Regions from separate parts of the Homo sapiens genome. Here regions 1, 2, 4, 5 and 6 are each linked to region 3. Evidence: promoter capture Hi-C in 16 types of primary human blood cells and fetal thymus (Javierre and others, 2016). All regions are on one chromosome and are shown on one strand. The core of a region is centred on a gene start or on the middle of the fragment in contact, and the rest is flanking DNA. Distances in the headings are between cores, read along the strand shown. Region 1 overlaps HDX (highly divergent homeobox). Region 2 overlaps HDX (highly divergent homeobox). Region 3 holds the start of HDX (highly divergent homeobox). Region 4 has its middle 230 kb from the start of HDX. Region 5 has its middle 210 kb from the start of HDX. Region 6 overlaps HDX (highly divergent homeobox).

The links. Contacts are between HindIII fragments. The CHiCAGO score rates a contact against its expected background, and 5 or more counts as called.
Region 1: a fragment that was not itself captured here is called in contact with the fragment with the promoter of HDX in region 3 in 4 of 17 cell types (M0 macrophages, monocytes, M1 macrophages and 1 more); the score reaches 6.7 in M0 macrophages.
Region 2: a fragment that was not itself captured here is called in contact with the fragment with the promoter of HDX in region 3 in 1 of 17 cell types (monocytes); the score reaches 10.2 in monocytes.
Region 4: a contact is called between a fragment that was not itself captured here and the fragment with the promoter of HDX in region 3, in 1 of 17 cell types (monocytes). The highest score is 8.0, in monocytes.
Region 5: a contact is called between a fragment that was not itself captured here and the fragment with the promoter of HDX in region 3, in 2 of 17 cell types (monocytes and M0 macrophages). The highest score is 16.4, in monocytes.
Region 6: a contact is called between a fragment that was not itself captured here and the fragment with the promoter of HDX in region 3, in 4 of 17 cell types (monocytes, M2 macrophages, M1 macrophages and 1 more). The highest score is 19.3, in monocytes.

The regions. Positions count from the first base shown.
Region 1 is chrX:84,318,949-84,322,808 of GRCh38, reverse strand. It overlaps HDX (highly divergent homeobox), which reads left to right. Exons shown (of 11, transcript NM_001177479.2): 11 at 795-3,860. The coding sequence ends at 920. Among named protein-coding and RNA genes, the nearest start is that of MIR548I4, 95 kb to the right of the region's middle. The HindIII fragment of the contact is 3,302 bases long and covers 113-3,414 here.
Region 2 is chrX:84,357,781-84,361,522 of GRCh38, reverse strand. It overlaps HDX (highly divergent homeobox), which reads left to right. Exons shown (of 11, transcript NM_001177479.2): 6 at 1-57. Among named protein-coding and RNA genes, the nearest start is that of MIR548I4, 130 kb to the right of the region's middle. The HindIII fragment of the contact is 3,787 bases long and covers 115-3,742 here.
Region 3 is chrX:84,500,375-84,504,376 of GRCh38, reverse strand. It overlaps HDX (highly divergent homeobox), which reads left to right and starts at 1,924. Exons shown (of 11, transcript NM_001177479.2): 1 at 1,924-2,035. RefSeq lists a silencer at 1,751-1,900. The HindIII fragment of the contact is 2,765 bases long and covers 1,371-4,002 here.
Region 4 is chrX:84,731,305-84,734,943 of GRCh38, reverse strand. It overlaps the pseudogene TEX16P. Among named protein-coding and RNA genes, the nearest start is that of HDX, 230 kb to the right of the region's middle. The HindIII fragment of the contact is 7,467 bases long and covers 1-3,639 here.
Region 5 is chrX:84,714,176-84,718,022 of GRCh38, reverse strand. It overlaps the pseudogene TEX16P. Among named protein-coding and RNA genes, the nearest start is that of HDX, 210 kb to the right of the region's middle. The HindIII fragment of the contact is 4,245 bases long and covers 1-3,610 here.
Region 6 is chrX:84,339,329-84,342,949 of GRCh38, reverse strand. The region is part of intron 7 of HDX (highly divergent homeobox); the gene reads left to right. Among named protein-coding and RNA genes, the nearest start is that of MIR548I4, 120 kb to the right of the region's middle. The HindIII fragment of the contact is 2,224 bases long and covers 1,141-3,364 here.

The DNA of each region.
Region 1 (3,860 bases), core at 514-3,013, 180 kb after region 3:
TCAAGTGAACATTAGCATTGTCAGCTGCGTAAAACTTGATTAATCATTTATTTCTTTAGAATGGGTGCATGTTCTACAACTTCAGATAAAACAATTAGACCATGACAAAGCTTATTTCATCATTATTGGATTATCCTTATTACTCAAGCAGAGAAATGAGTAGCCCTCCAGATACATCATTACTACAGATAGATCCACTGATTCAGCTGTGCCCTGGTGGGTGCTTGGCCATCTGTAGGTATGAACATAGCCTTAGGAAAGAAAAAATAAAATTACTTGGTCTTTTCAAGTTGTTAAAATTTAGTCTAAAGTAAAATAGCTGGAGGTTTTTCCTAACTACTAAGTTCTTTCTCCCACTGAAGAACAAAATAGTCTTTTGTTAAATGCAGTCTTCTACAAAGGACAGCATAACTGGCATGAATATTTTAACAAAGAACGCAATTTTAAATCCCTTAAACAGTGATCAATGCACACTCAAAACTAGTATGAAAATCACTAACCTCAAACACTTCAAAGCACTTGGTTCAGAAGAGTTGCTCATTTCCCTCCTAATATCCCCTTTGTACAGGTTCTACTCTACAGAATTCACACTTTCAACATCTAGAATTTTGTTACCTTCTGAATAATGTATGAAGAATTTTTCTTTTAGGTAAGGCATTGTCTAAGATCCTGAAATATAAATTATTCTTTAAATCCATAAGGATAATTCACCATGGGAGGACTACAACTATTAATATAAATTGGAAAACAATCTATCCACATACTAATCCAAAAATATTATTTTTTTTATTCAGGCACTGCTGTCAGATTTACCTCCTGAATTAGAGGAAATGGATTTCAATCATGCCTCACTGGAGCCTGATGATACCTCATTCAGTGTATCTTCTTTGTCAGAGAAAAATGTCTCAGAAAGTTTGTGATTTCAGTTGGAGGGAATATATGATACAGTCTTTTGGCTTCGTAACAGGTGTGCATTTCAAGATAACTGCATTCTGTTGCCCTGGTATTCTTTAGTTGGGAAAACACATTGTTGAAACGGACGTATTCTGTGAAGAATGTACAAGATATAATGGCTACAGTGCAACAAAAATGTAGGTGAAATTTAAAAGCATTGTTTGAGAGAGTATTTTTTTAACTGATGGAACTCTGGAAAAAAATTATATTTAAGTTTCAGCAGTTTAACCCTGAAATTCATTATGTCTAATTTCTAACCAGAGACAAAATAACTAAAGACATTTCAGCATTGCTTATCAAGTTGCTACAGCTTGATTAGTCTTGTTTTTGTAGCCATTACATCTTCTTTCTTCTTCTCTCCTTTTCCTATCATCCACTTACACTTTTTCTCAGGAAAGTGGACTGAACATTTAAAACAAAACTTTAAAAAATTATTTAACTCATTATTTAATGAGTTCTCTGATTTAGTTTTTAACCCCTATGAAAATTTGACTTAAACTAATGACTGAAAATTAAATGATTACAGGTATGTAATTGTAAATTGCTGGTGTTCTTCTATTATCTAACCCAAATATTTGTGTGGGGGTGGGGAAGCACAATGGAAAGGTAATTTAACCAACATAACGTCAAATAAATTACGAAGTGTACAGAAACAAAATGTTGTCAAAATTAGTCTTGATGGGGATTCTTCATTACTACAAATGACAAGTATTGATACGATTGACATTCCAGTAGTAAATTTGTATACCTGGGTTAGATGAAGTGTTACACAAATATTTTAAATTTATCACCATCTTTATAATTCTTTTTTAGTTCTTACATGTTATGAAACAGGAAGTCAAGGTAAGCTGCTGAGATTTTTTAAAAATTTAGTCATTCAGCTTTGCCACAAAATTTACCTCATTTCCATATGAGGCCTGTACAGAGCCATCAGCCAAGGATAGTATTCAAAAAGAGTTATACTACTTTGGTTGTAAATCACAGTCTTCTGAATTCCATGAATACTATTCTATGAGTACACACCTAAAATGGGCAAGCTACCCAGTTTTCTATTATTAGTAGGTACCAGATGGCAACACACTGTAGACTGTTCTTTGTAGTTCTTCCTTTCTGGAGTACCAGATGGTATTACCAAGACCCATAGAAGAAAAAATGTCAGTTTCTCCCTAAGCCCACAGTGTCATATATTTGTGACTTGGCAGTGTGCAATTGTGTTGCATGGTTAAATTACTATCTATACCTAAAAGATTAATGAAGTAGCTGGATGGCTGTTTCAGCCATCAAGTTTCTGTTTCCAATTTGTTTTTAATTTTTGTTGGTACCTAGTAGGTATTCAGATATTTTTAAAAATTTGTAATTAGAGCCAAATTTGATCTTGAAATTTACTAGTACTAACTTATGAACACAGAAAGGCAGTCATAAATGTCTTTACCCTTGAAGTGTCCCATCCTCCCACACACACAAATAGGTAAGCTCCCACTGATAGTCTTTCATTTTGTCACTTATTTGTTTATATTGCTGCCATACTACTGATATGGTCCCTTTGTTAGTAGGAATATTTCAGTGTTCAGATATGCTTCCTTGAGCCATATGGAGTTTTGCAAACAATAGTTAGTTTTTCTTGCTGACAAGTCAAATTCCATTCAGAGAAAGCAGCAGAGAGTAACAGAGCCTCAGATATTACGATTAAATGTACCAGTCACACCAACTCCTCCATGAGATGAAGAGTCGCCCCCATATACAACGAAGTTAGAAACCACTTATTAAGTAGCATGAACAAATTCCAGGCCTTCAAGTCTCTCCTAGGGTCTGCTTCATAGTCATTGAGTTTATCTTTCAAATATAATTACTTCTGCTTCAATTTAAGCCCCTTCTTATTTGGTTCTCATTGCAAATTAACTATAGGTATATTCTCTCCTACAGCTTTTAACACTATAGATTTTATTTGTCACGCATCAGCCATTAGTCACTAAATCGAAAAATACTTGTTGAGCTCCTGCTATAGAGAAGACACTGTGCTGGACATTGGATTTCTCAGCAAGCTGTAAACATCACAAATAATTATTTCTTTTTAACATCTTCTATGATATTAATAAACCATATTTAAGTAGAATTTTTAATAGATTTAAGGTTCTGCTAGGTGTGATTCTTAGAAGGATTCCTAGTCCACAATTTTGAGAGAAAGCATAGATGATCTTTTTGTCTCTGTTTAACATTTCATCAAAATAGAAACTATATAAATCATAACAATACATTTAGAACTCCTTTTGTCTTGAAATTTGTGTTTCAGCACCAGAATATTTTTCTTCACCATCATTGGAATTAAAACACTTCTAAAATGAAATGTGGCTATTCTGTAGCAGGAACTGAAGGAAATACCTCTATCTATAGAAAAAGAATCATAATTGCCAGATTGAAATTATTCATGGTAGACTTTGAAAAAGATGTCAAGGTCAAGCTTTGAAAAGTTGTTATGAAGAAAGTATATTTTTTACATATGTAGATAGGAGTTGGTTTTGAGATATGTTAGAGCAGGAAAAATTATCAGCTTATAATTACTCTTGTGGACATCTTCATGGCTGGGGATAAAAATTAACTAACTAGTGTTTCTTTCTTTAGGGCTTTGAGATTATTAAAACAGACCTTACTATCTGAAGGCTCTCTCAGGGAGACAGAAGCCAATGTGGAAAAAAACAAAAAACAAAAAACAACAACAAGAAAAAACTTCTTTTTTTCTTTCAACTACATTTCTATGTCTGCTTTAAGCTTAGAACAGCCAAGCAGTTTTTAAGCCAGAAATGTGTATGTAAGAGCACTTACCTTCCAAAATGTGTACATATGAAAAAAAAAGGAAGGTATTTTCTTCTTTTCAGCCAAGCTAAACTTATTCACAAGAAAATGAGAAT
Region 2 (3,742 bases), core at 759-3,258, 140 kb after region 3:
AGAGAGAAAATTGAAGCTGTGGCAACTGAATTAAATGTTGACTGTGAAATAGTTCGGGTAAGACATTTTCTATAATTTTCATGCTATAGTTGCTGAATGGCATAAATGAAAGCTTTAAAATCTTACATGAGGTGCTCCAAGCAATGCTAGCAATAAAGTGAAAAGATAACCCACAGGATAGGAGATATTTTGAAATCATATATCTGATAAGGAATATGTATCAAAGGATGTAAAGAACACTTACAAGTCAATAATAAAATTGCAAATAACCCAATTTTAAAAATAGGCAAAGGAAATGAATAGATATTTGTTTTAAAAAGATATACATATTGCCAATATTTACCTGAAATTATGTTCAACATCATTAGTCATTATGGAAATGAAAATAAAAACCACAAGTTGCCATTTATCCACTGTAACAATATTAACATAAAAGGTATATAATAATGAGTTTTGGCCAGGATATGGAGAAATTGTAGCCCTGATACGTTGCTGGTAAGAATGTAAAATATTTTAGCAACTTTGACAACAGTCCTCAAAAAGTTTAACACAGAGTTATCATATGACCAAAAATTCCACTGCTGGAATGGATTTCAATCTACTCAAAAGAATAAAAAATGTATATCCAACTCAAAAAGTTGCACACTGATATTCATAACAGAGTTTTCCATAATATCCAAATGGAAACAACCCAAACATCCACCAAGTGAATGTATAGACAACATCTGGATATATGCATATAATGGACTATTATAGAGCCATATAAAGGAATGAAATATTCATATGTGCTATAAAACGGATGAACCTTAAAAACATTATGCTAAATGAAAGAAACCCATTGCAAAAGACCACATATTATATTATTTCATTTATATGAAGTGTCCTCATTAGGCACACTCTAGAGACAGAAAATAGGTTAGTGGTGCCAAGAGCTGAGGGAGGGGAGGGATGGGACCTGACTGTTAATATGCATGGGATTTATTTTTGGCATGATGAAAATGTTCTAGATTAGTTAGTGGTGACTGGTGCACAGCACTGTGAATATGTTGAAAACATTTTAATTGTACATATTAAATAAATGAATTGTGTGGTGTTTTAAATATATCTCAATAACATTGTTTAAAAATTACATGAGGTGAATTGAAATATATCTCATATAATGAATGATAGATAAAAATTTATTTTACATTCCCACCTACAGTGTAAAAGTGTTCCTATTTCTCCACAGCCTTGCCAGCATCTGTTGTTTCTTGACTTTTTAATAATTGCCATTCTGATTGGCGTGAGATGGTATTTCATTGTGGTTTTAATTTGCATTTCTCTAAAGATTAGTGATGTTGAGCTTTTTCTCATGTTTGTTGGCTGCATAAATTTCTTCTTTTGAGAACTCTCTGTTCATGTCCTTTGCCCACTTTTTAATGGGGTTGTTTGTTTTTTACTTGTAAAATTGTTTAAGTTCCTCGTAGACTGTGTATATTAGACCTTAGTCAGATGGGTATATTGTAAAAAATTTCTCTTTCTGTAAGTTTTCTATTCACTCTGATTATAGTTTCTTTTGCTGTGCAGAAACTCTTTTGTTTAATTAGATCCCATTTGTCAATTTTTGCTTTTGTTGCAATTACTTTTGATGTTTTTGTCATAAAATCTTTTGCCCATGCCTATGTCCTGAATGGTATTGCCTTGATTTTCTTCTAAGGTTTTTATAGTTTTGGGTTTTACATTTAAGTCTTTAATCCAACCATTGTGAAAAACAGTGTGGTGATTCCTCAAAGACTTAAAACCGGAAATACCGTTTGACCCAGCAATCCCATTACTGGGCATGTACCCAAAGGATTATAAATCATCCTATTATAAAGATACATGCACACGTATGTTCATTGCAGCAGTATTCACAATAGCAAGGACATGGAAGCAACCCACATGTCCATCAGTGATAGACTGGATAAAGAAAATGTGATACATATACAACATGGAATACTATGCAGCTATAAAAAGGAATGAGATCATGTCCTTTGCAGGGCCATGGATGAAGTTGGAAGCCATTATCCTCAGCAAACTAACATAGGAACAGAAAACCAAACCCCACATGTTCTCACTTATAAGTAGGAGCTGAACAATGAGAACACATGGACACAAGGAGGGGAACAACACACACTGGGGCCTGTTGGGGGGTGGGGGAAGGGAGAGCAACAGGAAAAAAGCTAATGTATACAAGGCTTAATATCTAGTTCATGGGTTGATAAGTGCAGCAAACCCCTTCCACGGCACACATTTACCTTTGTAACAAACCTGCAGGTCCTGCACATGTATCCTAGAACTTAAAATAAAATAAAATAAAATAAAATTTTAAAAATTATACTGATCAATCATTGGAACAGTAGTTTATGTTCCATTTAAAAGATAAAATTTTGAAAGTGGTAGTGCTGGTAAGTACTTAGCAATCAATTCTTTAAGGAAAAAAAAAGCCTTAATTAATAGTATTTGCTGATTTCCGTGGTGTAAAGATTCCTACCACAGCTGATTCCATGTCTCACTCAACACAGAGTTGGGAAGAGATGCTAACAGTTGACGCTTGTGAGCAAGTGTAGGTTGACACCAGTACACACACTGGAGGATCATCTCAGTAGATCAAGAGGGAAGTATATTAAAGAAGTGACAAAGAGCCAGGCTTGGTAGTACATACCTGTAGTCCCAGCCACTCAGAAGGCTGAGGTGGAAGGATCACTTGAGCCCAAGAGTTCAAGTGCAGCCAGGACAACCTAATGAGACTCCAGCTCTTATCTCATATATATATGAAGAAAAGAGCAATATAGAGAGAATTTTTGAGTAGAGATTTCTGAAAATAAATACTATTCTCAAAATAAGTACTGCCCTGTTCAGAGTCTTGCTTTTTCTTGTTAGAATCCAGATGGAAAATCAAATTCAATACTGTGTTTGTTGAGCATGCTGCTATGTGTTAAAGTATACTAACAAGGAGAGAGAAGTGCATTAGACATTATTTCTATTTTAAGGAGCTCAGAGTCTAGCAAGAGGGATGACACAAGAAAAAAAATGACTGAAGAGGAATTGGAGTAGAGTCATAGTATGAGGAGCTTAAGCAACAGCCAAAAATAGGGAAATGTAGAGCATGTGTTCTTGTTGTCATTGTCATTTTTATTTTTTTTAAATCAAAGTTATATACGTATATAGCTTAGGAAGTCAAGTTCTGTAGAATTTGCTACAACACCAACATTCCTCACTCCTTCCTTCCTACCATTTTGCAATAGCCCGAGTTGAACCACTTTCCACTTTTAGTTATTTCCTTCAGTATTTACTTTCATCTATGAATGATGTGTTGTATTAATTAGAATTAGGTTTAGCTGTAAGTATTAAAAAGACCCAAAAGTAACAATGGCTTAGACAAGATATTTCAATTCCATGTATAAGTCCATGTATATGCAATTTACAGCTAGCATGGCAGTTTGGCTCTACAATATCCACAAAAACCCTGATGCCTTCCAGTTTCCATTCCGCTGTCCCTGTGATGTGGCCCTTTTTATCAAGGCCCAAAATGATAGCATACATACTCAAGGCAGCATGACAGAGAGGGAGAAGAATAAGGGGCAAAGGCTGTTCACCAGCTGTCTTTTAACAAGGATTTCTGGAAACTGCCATGAGATCTGTTCACTTATATCCCATTGGCTAAAGATTAGTCACATGGTCATACCAAACTACAAGAGAAGCTGCAAATGTAATTTTACTG
Region 3 (4,002 bases), core at 675-3,174:
TACGTTAATCAATTATCAATAGGCTTTTTCTGAATCCTCCACTTTACCCATATAATTCCTTCTTTGAAAGTCTCATATTTCATCATTTTTAACACCCTAATCTAGGGGTGTGTCACCTAGAAGCTGGGTTAGCATTACAACTGTCTAACTGGTCTCTCTCACTCCAGCCTATCGCAATGTTACTGAAAATGCAAATTAATGACTTGAAAAATGTGCTTTCAGTCATTCATTCAATACGTACTTACTTATTTGTCTACTTTGTATTTAGAGGCTTTCTAGATTTGAGGGATATAATAATAAACAAAACAGACAAAAATCCCTGCCTTCATAGAGCTTACATTTGCAATAACTAAATATATAAAATACATTTAATAATAATAAATACTATGAAGAAAAATGAAACAGAAAAAAGGGTATAGAGAGTGTTAAGGATATCACAATTTTAAATAGGAAAACCTCTTTAAAGAGGTTGCATTTGAGCAAAGATTTCAATCAAGTGATGGAGTAAGTCATATAAAGATCAGACAGTACAACAGTACAGGGTCACTGCTGTGGACATGAGCTTGACTTGTTTGAGAAATAGAAGATTAATATATTTGTGAATTAGTGGCTGAGTGACAGGAGGTGAGGTCAGAAAGATGGCGGAGGCCAGATCATTTAGGGCTTTGAGGACATGGTAAGAAATCTGCATTTTATTGTATATGTGAAAGGAAACCATTGAACAATCTGAAGTTGAGCATAATCTGGCTTTTGTTTTAAAAAATCACCTAAACTCCTCTGTAGATAATTGACTATAGAGGATTGAGGTCACATGCTTTATGGCTTTTGGTGGCTTTTAATCAAATAAAAGTTATCTGCCTATTTTCAAAGGCTTTTATTATTAGCCAATTCCATCTACCACTAGTCCTCAGCATATGCCCTCTATTTGTCAAGCTGATTTCATCATGGGCTTCCTCACATCATATGAATTTATACGTCTCTACCTTTGCCTATCTTTCCCCTTTAAGACGGTGACTTCCATCTGCTCTTATCCACCATTCAAGAACCATCTCAAGTTTTAATTACATAAAATGCTTCCCTGACTTTTCACCTCACTGATGTCTCCAATAATTAAATAATGTAGCTCTTGTCTGTAGTTAATGACTGAGCACATGATCATGTACTTTATTTTATTGTTGTGAATATTTACTGTGTGCTAATCTTGTCTTCCAAACGATGTTGCAAGTTCTATGATAGCAGAGAATCAATGAATTCTATATCTCTCATGGCATCCAGCAAATCTGGGAAGTATATCAAGTGACTGTTAAATGATGTAACATGTGGCTTGACTTCTTTTCTGGAATGGTATAATGGTGATCACCCAAGAAGCTTCTGCCAGAATAGGAATTGAGGTTGGATGAATAAAAACCATAGTTTCTTTCCTCAGTCATCAGAGCCAACCAGTCACGTATAATAGTACACTTGCTTTTACTGTAAAATTCTAAAGGCTCGATGGACACCTTATTGATTTTAGTAAAACTGAATATTTACCTGTCAATCGAACACTGACCACAAAGGACTGTATTTCCTTATGCTATCATTTGATTTTGGCAGCATGTAACAATTTTGTTAAAACCCAATGTCAAGTTGGAAGGCCAGGCAGCACCTGCTCAAATGGCTGGCATGTAACTACTATAGTCACAGGGATGCTCGGTGTTCACAGCTATTCAGGAAGGTATAGAGAGCCCTGGCCGTAGATGTAGCTGATTTGTGTGAGGAAGAGGCAGTCCAGTTGCAGGCAGCCATCTCTCTTCCCCCCTCCCAACTCTTGGGTTCTGGGCTGAGGCCAGGGACTGTCCTGAGCTGATCGCAGGCTCCCATTGGCCGCTGTCTTTTGTGACGTCACGATCATGATGAGAATTGATGATCGGACACGCTGATTTCATTGTCTGAAGCGGCACTGGAGACCCAGGAAAAATCTCGCTGAATCCGCCTGCCCCAGCAGCGGCCTGATCTGGGTTCCGCTGATTCCTTTCGTAACCGCACCACACCCGAGGTAAGCACTCAACACTAAGTGGGTGAGAAGGGCGAAGGAGGGAGGGCAAAGCACCGGGATAATGCTTTTCCTAGTTTGGGGCGAGGTTGGGGGTGGGGGGGTCCATAGGTTCCGTGGCCTAAACAGGCAGACAAAAAACTGGTGCGGATCCTAGGGAGCCAAGTGCCTCTATCCTCCTAGCGAAGGCTGGCGGCTGAGTGAGATTAGAAACGAGCTGCGGATAGGGATACAATGGGGATTGCCAGAGAGCGAAGGACCTTGCTCGGAGAGAGAGCGATGTTTGGGACGCGCTTCTGGACGGGTAGTAGGAGGAAGTGGCGCCTCTGCCTCCGAAGAAAGGAGGGGATTGAATTCTACCACTTCTAGATTTCACTGGACAGTAGATTTCTCACAGCCCTACTCAAAGGCACTGAGAGCGTAGCGCCTGCGCATTAGCACCTTGGTGGGGGCGGGGTGGGTCACTGTGAGGAGAATAGGCGTGGAGTTTGCACAGGCGCTGTTTCGGTTTCACTGGAAGAGGTGGGGCTGAGCCATTTCTGTGCTGAATTTGGAAAGTAGAGACCCAGGGAACATCCCAGGCCTTGTGATGTTTCAAGCACCAGTTGATGGGGAGAGATCTGCCATTTAGTTTAAACTGGCCTACTGAGTAAATCCAGCTTCAAAATGAGCCTTATAAATTTGAGAAGGCACATTCTAAATTTCCAGATATTAGATGTTGAATAACGGAATGAACTCTAGAAGAATTTGTGAAATAGAAGTTTATCAGATAAGAAACTGTTTGGAAAAATAAACACTAATTATTCAAATGAATCTAACTTTTAATCTTAAAGGAGCTCTGATTTGAGGTGACAATGATTTTGAACCTTAAATTCTTTGGAAAGACTCAGAATGAAGTCCATTGTGGAGGCTCAGAGTAAGAAATTTTCCTTTCTTGCCTTTTTCTCTTCTTGGGACAATCTCTTATAAATATTTAGTCTCCATATCAAGTTTGGTGCTGAGTCCATCTTCTTCCTCTGTGTCTCTGCTAGAATCACTGAAGTCAAATATTATTTTGAGAAGCCCTTTCCCGCACCCCTTCATTGGGAAGGCTGTTATATTACTTATATTAAGGCTTTTATTACTCAGCAGTTGTGGGGAACAATGAAGAACAACCTGCCTGTCTATTATTGATGAATAGATTGTACAGTATTGTTATTAATTGCCCTCCACAGTCTGATCATAGACTCCTGACAATTTTACAGAGGAATCTGGATTTTTCTCTATTTCTCATAGTTAAGGGATTATCAAGTACTGGTAAATTTTCCTTTGAAAGCCTTCTCACACGTTCCTCCTTTACAATCTAAATTCTCATCAGCACCCATGTAGTCACTGTAGGAGCTTCCTAGGCAGTCTTCACCTGTGCCCCAAATCCTTAGTGGTCTGTGAACACTTCTTTCAACAAATCACTTTCTTTAACCAACATATTCTTGGCCCCTTATTTTCTATTGTTTCAAGCCTAATTCCACCCGAATTTTAAAGAACTTCATAATCTGGCCTCATTGTAATGCAGGAGCCTTATTTTCCTTTATTCTTCAGGGCACAACTCTCTTTAATGTTCAGTTAGTGAGAACAATCTACCTTTATATCTTTGCTCCTTATACCATTACTGTCCCCTCCACGTAGGATGTCCTCCTTCTACATAATTCACATCTTACCCACTTTGGAAACTCAACTCAAATTCCACCCCTCCACAAGTGCCTTCCAAATTAATCTAATGCAAGTGTTACTGACCTCACTTTTCCTAGAATTCCCACGTCAATTATTGTCTTTGTTAGTTGCTTGTAGGCTGCTTTGTATTGTCTCCTTTGTTATTGTTGTTGTTGTTGTTGTTGTGTGTGTGTGTGTGTGTGTGTGTGTTAGACTGGAATCCTCAAATGGATTTTAAACCCTTCCTTAAGGGTTGGGACCATGACATCCATTTCTTTATT
Region 4 (3,639 bases), core at 589-3,088, 230 kb before region 3:
TTATCCTGCCCCCAGCTCCATGTTGCTGAGGCTAAGTGTTGGGAGAGTATGGCCAAAAGTTGAGGCTCATTTTCTCTTGCCAGTCCCCACTCATGGAATGGAGGCTCTAAATTGGATATGGTAATGCTTAGAATACTGAGGCCCCAATTACCTTTTCTCCAGCTCATAAGGCAGTGGTCCCATGACAGGAGAAGTGAGTCAAGGAGACCTAAGTCTATCCCCACATTCACTGAGCGCTCAGCTCCTAGAGCAGGAGTATTGCTCAAAGACAAGTGTGTCATTGTCTCCAACCCCAGCTCCAGATCTGTCTCAGAGATTTTGCCTGGTGGAAGAAGCAGGCCATAAAACAGATAGATCCTTTTCTCTTCCCAAATAAACTTACTTTATTTGCAATAGTGAAGTTCAAAACTAAGGATGCTGCTATGGTTTGAATGTGTCCCTTCCAAAATTTATATTAAAACTTAATCCCTAATATAACATTAATAAGAGGTAAGACCTTTAGGAAGTAATTAGGCCATGAAAATTCTCCCCTCATAGATGAGATTAGTGACCTTATACAAGGGCTGGAGGCAACTAGTAAGGCACCATTTTTGTCCTTCTGCCTTCTGCCATGTGAGGACACAGTGCTCATCCTCTCCAGAGGATATATCTTTGTTCTCCTTTCTTATCTCAGATTCTCTAAATGACATAAACTTGTATAAAATAATAATTATAGCAATGTATTAATGGGTTTTTAACATTAAGACAATATATACATATATAAAAAACACTAATACCATAAAGGAGAAAAACATAATACAGTGCTATAGAAGTAACATTTCTATATCTCATTGGAATTAAGTTGCCATAAATCTGAAGATCATTCTGATAAGTTAAAATGTGCATAGTAAGCTGTAGGGCAACTACTAAGGAAATAAAAATAAATTACAAAAAGGTTATGATAAATAATGAAATGTTTCATTAGAAAACATTCACTTAATGCAAAGGAAAGCAGTAAAGAAGAAATAGAGGATGAAAAAAGACATGAAACAAATTGGAAATAAAAAAGTAAAATGGCATACTTAAATCTTACTGTAACAGTAATAACATTAAATGTGGATGGATTAAACAATCCAGTCAAAAGCAGAGATTGTCAGATGGGATAATAAAATAAGAGTCACCTATATGCCACCTAGACAATTCACAGTATAGATTTCAAAATACAAAATGATTGAATGTAAAAGGATGAAAAAATATAAATCATACAAACAGCAGCCACAGAAAGTTTAAGTGACTGTGCTAATATTAAACACAGAGGACTTTAAAACACACACATTTTCTAATGGTAAAACATTGAACCCACCATGGGGATAGTACAATTATAAGTATACATATATTTAATAAGAAAGTACTGAAATACATGAATCAAAACTTGACAGAAATGAACAGAGAGAGTTGGGCATTTTGATACCCCATATTCAATAATGGATATAACAATTAGATGAAAGATCAAAAAATAAATAGAAAACCAGTTAGACTTAAGAGACACCAATAAAACACTCCGCTAAACAACAAATAAATTATTGTTAAATCTACATGGAACATTCTCCAGTATAGTCTATATGACAGAGCATAAGAAACAAATATATTTAAAAAGGTTAAAAATGTAAGCTATGTTCTCCAACTAGAATGGAAAGAAACAAGAAATCAATAGGGGAAGAAAAATGGAAAATCTACAAATATGTGGAAATTAAAAAACACACTCTTAAACAACCAAGAGTCAAAGACAAGTTAAAAGAAAAATTTTCAAATATTTTGAGACAAAAGAAGGTGAAAATACAGCATACAAAAATCTATGGGATGCAGCAAAAATGGTGATCGGAGGAAAATGTATAGTTGTTGATACATTATATAGAAAGAAAGATTTCAAATCAATAACATCACCTTATACCTCAAAGAATTAGGAAAAGAACAAGTTAAATTCAAAGCTAGAAGATGGAAGAAATAATAAAGATTAGGGGAGAGAAAATTGAAGAGAGAATGAAAAAAAAAATAGAGAGGATCTATGAAACCAAAAGTTTCCTCTTTGAAAAGATCAACGAAATTGGCAAGTCTTTAGCTAGACTGACTAGGAAAAGAGAGAAGACTCAAATTACTAAAAATAGAAATGAAAATGGGGCATTACTATAGTGCTTACAGAAATAAAAAGGATTATAGAAAAACATTATGAACACTTGTGCACTAACGAACTAGACAATGTAGATGAAATGAACAAATTGCTAGAAAGAAACTATCAAAACTTGCTCAAGAAGAAATAGAGAATTTGAACAGACCTATAATTGAAGAGGTTGAGTCAGTAATCAAGAACATCCAGGCTGGGTGTGGTGGCTCACACCTGTAATCCCAGCACTTTGGGAGGCTAAGGTGGGTGGATCACTTGAGTCCAGGTGTTGGAGACCAGCCTGGGCAAAATGGAAAAATCTCATCTCTACAAAAAAAATATAAAAAAAATAGCTAGGTGTGGTGGTATACACCTGTAGTCCAAGCTACTTAGGTGGGTGAAGTGAGAGGATTGCTTGAGGCTGGGAGGCAGAGGTTGCAGTGAGCCAAGATCATGACATTGCACTCCAGCCTGGGTGACAGAGTGAGACCCTGTCTCAAAAAAAAAAAAAAAAAAAAGGAGAGCACAGGACCAGATGATTTCAATAGTGAAGTCTAACAAACATTAAAAGAAGAATTAACACCAATTCTTCTCATGAAATATAAGAGAACACTTTCTAATATATACTATGAAGTCAGAATTACTCTGATTCCAAAGCCACATAAAGATATCGCAATAAAAGAATAGACCAGTATCTCTTATGAAAACAGATGCAAAAATCCTCAACACAATACTAGCAAACTTAATTCAGCAACATATTAAGAGGATTATACATCATGACTGGGATTTATCCCCAAAATGCAAGGTTTGTTTAACATGCAAAAATCAATTAATGTAATACACTATATTAATAGAATAAAAAACAAAACCACAAGGTCATATCAATACATGTGGAAAAAAATCTGATGACATTCTACACTCTTTTATGATAAAGACACTTAACAAACTAGAAACAGAACACTCTCTGATAAAAGAAGACTATAAAAACTCACAACATAAATCATGTTTAATGGTGAAATACTGGATGTTTTTCCCCTAAGAAATGAAACAATGATGGCTACTTTCTCATTTCTATTCAACATTGTAATGGAACTTCTAACCAGAGAAATTAGGGAAAGAAAAGAAATAAAAAACATGTAAATTGGAAAGAAAAAAGCAACTTTATTTGCAAATGATATATTATTGTATTCAGAAAATCATAATGAATCTACTAAAAATTATTAGTACTAATATATAATTTTGTCAAAGCTCAAGATACAAGATCAATGTTCAAAAATCAATTGCATTTGTATATGCATGCAATAGAGAATCAAAAAATTATATTAAGAAAACAATTCCATTTAGAATAGCATCAGAAAGAATAAAATGATTTGAGTCAAATTTAACAAGGGAAGTTTAAATTTACTCTAAAAATTTCAAGACATTGTGGAAAGAAATTTTAAAAGATCTAGAATTTTTTTTTTTTTTGGCAGATTAGAGGCTTTTGTTGTTCCTTAGCC
Region 5 (3,847 bases), core at 239-2,738, 210 kb before region 3:
GAATGTATTAGCATTCATGAGAAATTTGAAAGCTGCTAAGCCTAGCCCATATCTTCCTGAATCTAAGTCCATCCCACATGGTTCAGAGCTAAAGTCCATCATATATCTTTTAGATCTAGCCTTCTCCTGGTATTTTTCTTCCTCCATCAGATGTACCCCAGGTAAAGAGGCTGAGACCGTTTCACCCATCTCTGTGTCTGAGTCCATCAGATACCTCTAAGAAGCAGAGACCATCCAGAGTTTTTCAGTCTCAGTCAATATTTTTTCAGAGTCCATCAGGTGTTTTACAGAATCTGAGGCCATTTGGCATTTCTCTGTCTTCAGCAAGTGTTTCACAGATGCAGAGGCCATGGGGCATTTTTCAGAGTCTGAGTCTATCCCCAGTCTTTCATTGTCAGAATACAGATATTTTTCAGAGTCAGAATCTACCAAGCATTTTTACTGAACCAAAGTCCATCCAGTGTTGCAGAGAGTCAGAGTCCACCTGGCACTGTTCAACTCTCATCGGGTTTTCTGCATAGCCTGAAGCTATTTGGTAGTTTTCTGCTTCTAGCAGGTGTTTCACAGTCTGAGTCTCTAGTATGTTTTTCTGAGTCCATTCCCCATATTACCGAGTCAGAGTCTTTCAAGTGTTGTTCTAAGTCAGAGTCCAAACCAATGCCTCTATCAGAGTCAGAATCAATCACATCCTTCAGAGTCAGAGTCCATAAGGGGACTATGACTTTTAATTATTGTCAGATGTTGGAGACTTTTATAGTCCAAAGAACCAGATAAAATTTCAGAACCTTTTGTGTGAGAAACTTCTGTTTCAGATTCATTTCCTTCATCCTGTTGCGTAGTAACAGCTTCTTCATTACTTAAAGAAAAGACAAACATGAATGAATACTTGTTTAAATATTCATCAAATGTTAGCAAACACTTTTTTTTGTTGAAAATCCTATTTTAGGAAAGCATTATATAGTACATATTTTTATATTTCAGGCTGTAGAAAGCAAGATAAAACACTAAACTTCCTGTGAACAAATTGGAAGACTATCAGTGTACACAGATTTTACACTCACTTACATCTTGCCTCACATTAACTGTTTTACAGCACATCTGAAAGTAATTGCCTGACTAGGCTACTTCCTTGCAAATATACCATTTTCTTGTCCTTATCCAATCAATACATCATTATTCTGGAGGCTGAATATCATGTTAAAATGTAGTATAAAATAAAAGTAAACTATGTGTATATTTTACTCCATGATAAGATTTGTAGACTCAATTATCAATGAGGCTTACCTTGGAGTGTTGAGCTTTCCTGGAGAAAAATATTCAAAACTGTCAGGTACTCTTTCATTTTGAAGAGACACAACTTGAAGAGGAAATCTACATTCACTTGATGAACTAGTTGTAGTTATTGAACTAGTTATAGTTATTGGCTGCAAAGCAAAACAAATCATAAAGTTGTAATTTCTCAGTTGCATTTAAAATGAAACACAGTATACTTAGGCACTTAGAGGACAGTATTGCTTTACTAGTAGCACCTGTGCTTAATAGAAAGTCATAGTGAAAACCTTTTCTAAACTAAAATTTCAGAATTAATATTCAAATGTAAGAGGAGGCATAGTAGACACTTATTTGGTACCGATATTTTTCACAGAGTTAGAAAAAAAACTATTCTAACATTCATATGGAATCAAAAAGAGCCTGAATAGCCAAAGCAGTTCTAAGCAAAAAGAACAAAGCCAGAGGCATCACATTACCTGACTTTAAACTACACTATAAGGCTATAGTAACCAAAACAGCATTGTACTGGTACAAAAACAGGTGCATAGACCAATGAAACAGAATAGAAAACTCAGGCAATAAAAGCCACACACCTATAATCATATGACATTTGCAAGTCCCAAAAAAAAAAAAAAAGAAAAGCAATGAGGAAAGGAGTCCCCATTCAATAAATGGTGCTGGGATAACTGGATAGCCATATGCAGAAGATTGGAACTGGACCCCTTCCTTACACCTTATACAAAAGTTAACTCAAGATGGATTAAAGACTTAAATGCAAAACACAAAACAATAAAAACCATGGAAGATAACCTAGGAAATATCTTTCTGGACATAAATACTGGCAAAGATTTCATGACAAAGATGCCAAAAGCAAAAGCAATTGCAACAAAAACAAAAATTGATAAATGAGATCTAATTAAAGAGTTTCTGCACAGCAAAAGAAACTATCAACAGAGTAAACAGACAACTGACAGAATGGGAGAAAATTTTTGCAAAATATGCCTTTGACAAAGGTCTAACATAAAGAATCTATATAGCACTTAAAAAATTAATACGTGTAAAACAAACAATCCCATTAAAAAGTGGACAAAGGATACGAACAGACACGTTTCAAAAGAAGACATACATGCAGCCAACAAGCATATAAAAAAATGCTCAACATCACTAATCGTTAGAGAAGTGCAAATCAAAACCACAATGAGATACCATCTCACATTAGGGAAGTGAAAATCAAAACCACAATGAGATACCATTGGCTCTTATTACAAAATGGTTATTATTACAAAAAGTAACAGATACTGGCAAGGTTGCAGAGAAAAGAGAATGCTTATGCACTGGGGGTGGGAATGTAAATTAGTTCAGCCATTGTGAAAAGCAGTGTGGCAATTCCTCAAAAAACTTAAAATAATTACCATTCAACCCAGCAATCCCATTATTGGGTATATATTCAAGGGAACATAAATTGTTCTACTATAAAGACCTATGCATGTGTATGTTTATTTTAGCACTATTCACAATAGCAAAGATGTGGTATCAACTTAAATGTCCATCAGAAGTAGAGTAGATAAAGAAAATGTGGTATATGTACATTATGAAAAACTACACAGTCAAAAAAGAATGAGATTATGTCCTTTGAAGCAACATGGATGAAGCTGGAGGCCATCATGCTTAGCAAACTAACAGGAACAGAAAACCAAATACCACATGTTCTCACTTATATGTGGGAGCTTAACAATAGGAACACGTGGACACAAAGAGAACAACAGACATTGAGGCCTATTTGAGGGTGAAGGGTGGGAGGAGGGAGAGAATCAAAAAACTACCTATCTGGTACTATGCTTATTACTTGGGTGAGGAAGTCTTCTGTACAGCAAACCCTCATGACATGCAGTTTACCTATATAACAAACCTACATATGTACCCTTGAACCTAAAAAAAAATTATAAAGTGTACATACTAAGAAGGTATCTGACTACTATTCCAAAATCATAGAAATAGCTATTCAATCATGACTTCTCTATCACTAGTTTTCATTATTTTAGAAGTCAAGACAAAAAGTAAGGGACAAGGAAAAACGCAAGCAAATTTTATTTAACTGGACACAATTTATGCTTAATCAAATAATATCTTCCTTCATAAATTGGTAATTAATATTCTTTTATGTGTTTGATTTATCAGGACACTTGGCCTCTTCAGGAACTATACAGATGTTTCTACTCTTTACAGAATAACCTACAGCAGCTGTGCATTTTAACACTCCATGGGGAAAAATATAACAGAAAATACAGTGAATATGGAATTCACACTGGTCATTTAGATTGCCATACTGCCTGAAGCTTTGGGGACTCTTGGCTATATTAAAGCTTTATGTCTGCCTTTTGGAACACAAAAATAAATATTTTCTTTAGCTAGAATAATTTCAAAGATGATATAAAGTACCAGAGACTGTAAGTACCAGAAAATTCCTAGTAACACCACTTTCCAGAAGTTGCACTTTTGAAATAAACTATTCTTTTTTCTAAACATTTAACTTCAGTTAACATCAAAAGAGAAACAATATTTATAAATTTATTAA
Region 6 (3,621 bases), core at 1,003-3,502, 160 kb after region 3:
TCTGTTTAGAATACTTACAATATATTTTCCAGTGTATTGTTTGCCTTTTAATTTTGCTTATGATGTTTTCTGATGTCAGATTTTCTTTTGTAATTTTTAAGTTTTCAAATCTACCCGTACTTTCCTTTATGGTTTCTGACCTTGGGTCATGATTACAGTCTTTCCTTATACTACAATTATGTAAATATACCCCCACATTTGCCTCTAGTATCCTTATAGTTTAATTTGTACAACTTGATATTTATTTCACCTAGAATTAATTTTGCTTTAAGATGTATGAATACATCCAATTTTATTTTTCCAAATGGTTAACTAATTGTCCCTACACCATTTGTTGAATAACTCATCTTTTACCAGTGAGTTGGAATGTAGCTTTTTATTAAATACACACACACACTCTCTCTCTCTCTCACACACACACACACACACATGCACACACATATACACACATGCAGACGTACACATATACACATGTGGGTCAAATCTGAGACTGCTTATTGTTACACTGATTTGACAGTTTACAACTTTGGCTTTATAAAATGTCTTAATAGCTGGTAGGGCCCTCATTCTTCTTTGCTTTGTAGTATATTGATTCTTGAATTGTTTAGTCATACAATTTGAACTGTTTAAGCATACCTTTTCCAAATCTCCTTCCCCAACATCCATTCAAGATTTTTCTTGGCATTGTATTAAATTTATAGAATACTGTAGGAAGATGAATTCAGCTTTGCACGTATTGAATTTTAGATAGTGGTTGGACATCCATGTAGAGCTGTCCAAGCAGGCCTTTGGATGATATGAGTCTGAAACTCAGATGAGTGCTTAAGACATAAAAAGAAATATGGAAGTCACCCACATTGAGGCAAAAAATATCTAGCCATGAAGATTGAAGATTTAGTTAAGTGAGAAAATGAAAAACAAGAAAGGACAATGGACAAAGACTGTGTATTGATAAATATCCAGATTTGGGCATTGGAGGAGAAAAGGGAGCCCTTGAAAGAACATTCAGAAACAGAAGAAGCAGGACAGTATGCTTTTCCTAAAATCAAGGAAAGAGTCGGGTGCAGTGGCATGCCTGTAGTCTCAGCTACTTGGAAAGCTGAGGCGAAAAGGATCCCTTGAAGTTGGGAGTTTGAAGCTTCAGTGTGTTCTGATTGCACCTGTGAATAGCCACTGTACTCCAGCCTCAGCAACGTAGTGACTTCTGTCTCTAAAATTAAGAAAAAAAAAAAAACAAATAAGGAGATTTCAGAAGGAAGAGGCGTCATTATTTCAGTAGTCTCGTGGTCTCATAGAAGTTAAGTAGAAAAAGGGATGAGAAAGCCATTGAATTTGGTGTTTTAGAAATTCTTTAAAAAAGCAATTAACTGCATGGGGAGAGGAGAGGCAAGCAGATTGCAGTAGGTTGAGTAATGAAAGGGAAAGCAAAGCTACTAGTATTAAGAGGGCCATGCATGTTAAGATCAGGTATTTGAAATGTTATCTATGTGAATATTCAAGTTTCTCTCTCTCTCTCTTTCTTAACATTTGTTATTCATATTGAAGATGATAACAGAGAATTAAGTGTACAGGGAAATAGTGAGGCAGATTTTAAAATTATCAAGAAAAAAAGAAATATTGCACCATTTCCAAGCCCTTTATTTCTAATATAGTTGGTCCTTTAAACCATTTCTGTCATTGGTTAGTGTTTACTAAATTGCATATGCCTGGAGATACTTGGATATTCCCAGTGACTCATGACTGGTGTTTTAGAGCCTGCTGAGTGGTGACTAGCTGAAGGAGAGTGGGGAAGTAGGGATTTGTGTGTTTCTGTGGTTGAGTGGGTGAGCTGAGAGAAAATATTCAGAGAAAGTACAGAAGACCCTAAGTGAAGTTTCGTTTCCCAACTCCCACTTCTCCACCTAAAAGATAATTTTAGAAAATAAGTAGTTGAAGGAAAAAAAGTGAAAGTTAATTTTAAAGACCACTTAATGGTCCACTCTTAATGGACCACTGCTCCTACACTGACATTCTTTGTCATGGTGTGTTCTTTAAATAGCTGGCATAGTAATCAAGACACAATGAGAAAAAGAAGAAAGAGAATTTAATGCATGAATCAAAAAACACTTGATCAGAAGTGTGATTGCCTAGAATTTTTTATCGGTGGCTTATCTTTCCACAGCTGCATGGTAACCTTTTCATTCTCACAGAAATTGCAACAGAAAAGCATAAAATCATTTTCAAATACTGAAAACAGCCCTTTTTGGTACAGTTTCCTACTAGTTATGTCCTATTCTCTTCCTCATTTTGCTAGTGGAGAATACTAATACGATTCGTTTGATTAAGTGAATCATATCATCTGGCCTAAATTAATATCATGCCTTTAAAATATGCTAACCATTTTCCTTCCAGTTTATGAAAATGTATTTAAATATATTTCTACTTTGAAATTTCCATTAATTACATCTAAGAAATATAAAGAAAAAATAATCTTTAGATTATTCTAAAATTAGCTGCCCATAGTATTTCAAAAACCTAACAACTGAAATTCAGACTGCTTATAATAGGGCTACTGATTCAGTAGCATTATCTAAGAAGGGAAAGATATCTTTAAGTTAGGGTTACATATTACATATTAAAAATCAATTGAAAATCACATTAAAATATTCTAGAAAAATCTGTATAAGCAAAAATTAAGATTTTTTTAAAATTCAGTAAAAGGCAGCTTTAGTAAGAGTCAAAAAAAGTGCTGCTGGTCTTTTAGCAGTTTCAGTTCCACTCATTTGTTTCTGAGAGGGTAGATACTTCCCTAATACAGAACTTCTGACTTACCTCTAACTTCCACCTTCCACCTCCCACCTTCCCTTTCCCATTTCCTTTCCCTTTCCCTGTGTGGTGATGAAGAGAAAAGAAGTGTGGTTAGGAAAGATAAAAAACAAAAACAAAAACAAATAAACCTACCTGAGCTCACCCCTCCCACAACTGCAAACTGTAGCAAAAGTAATAGCTAGATGGCTGAGCTCCTTAATTTCTGTATCTACAATTAATATACAGTGAAAAATAAATTTATGTTTGAACAACTTTAAAGATTTTTACTATCCTGAGAACCAAAATTTTTAAAGATGAGAACAATTAACATCTATGTCATTAAATTTTACATCACAGCCTCTTTTTTCAGCTGTATCTATTATATGGGTATGCACGTGAAAGATAATTATACAGTTACTTAGTGGGAGTACATACAGCCACCACATAGGGCGCCCTCTAGAGTTTTTACTGGGTAATTATTCCACTTTATTATCCAATTAGCAGAGCTGCTTTTCTTGGGGAATTACCAGGCACGTAGATAGTGTTTAGATTTCAAACATTCACAAATATTGAAGCTTCTGTAAGCGAAAGAAAACATTCCTTATTCAACTGTATCACTTCACATCCTTTTATTTTAGAAATCCTCAATATAGTTTTAATTTTAATCTTCCAAAATAATCAAACCATGTACAAAATATGTTGCCAGTAAAGGAGAACTGTGTACAAAGTTATGAGAAAAGGAGAATAGGAATATAAGGCAAACCTTTAAAGAATGTTACCTTGTTGATAAGCAATATAAACTCTCTTCTGAGGCCACTAGTGCTAATACTGGCT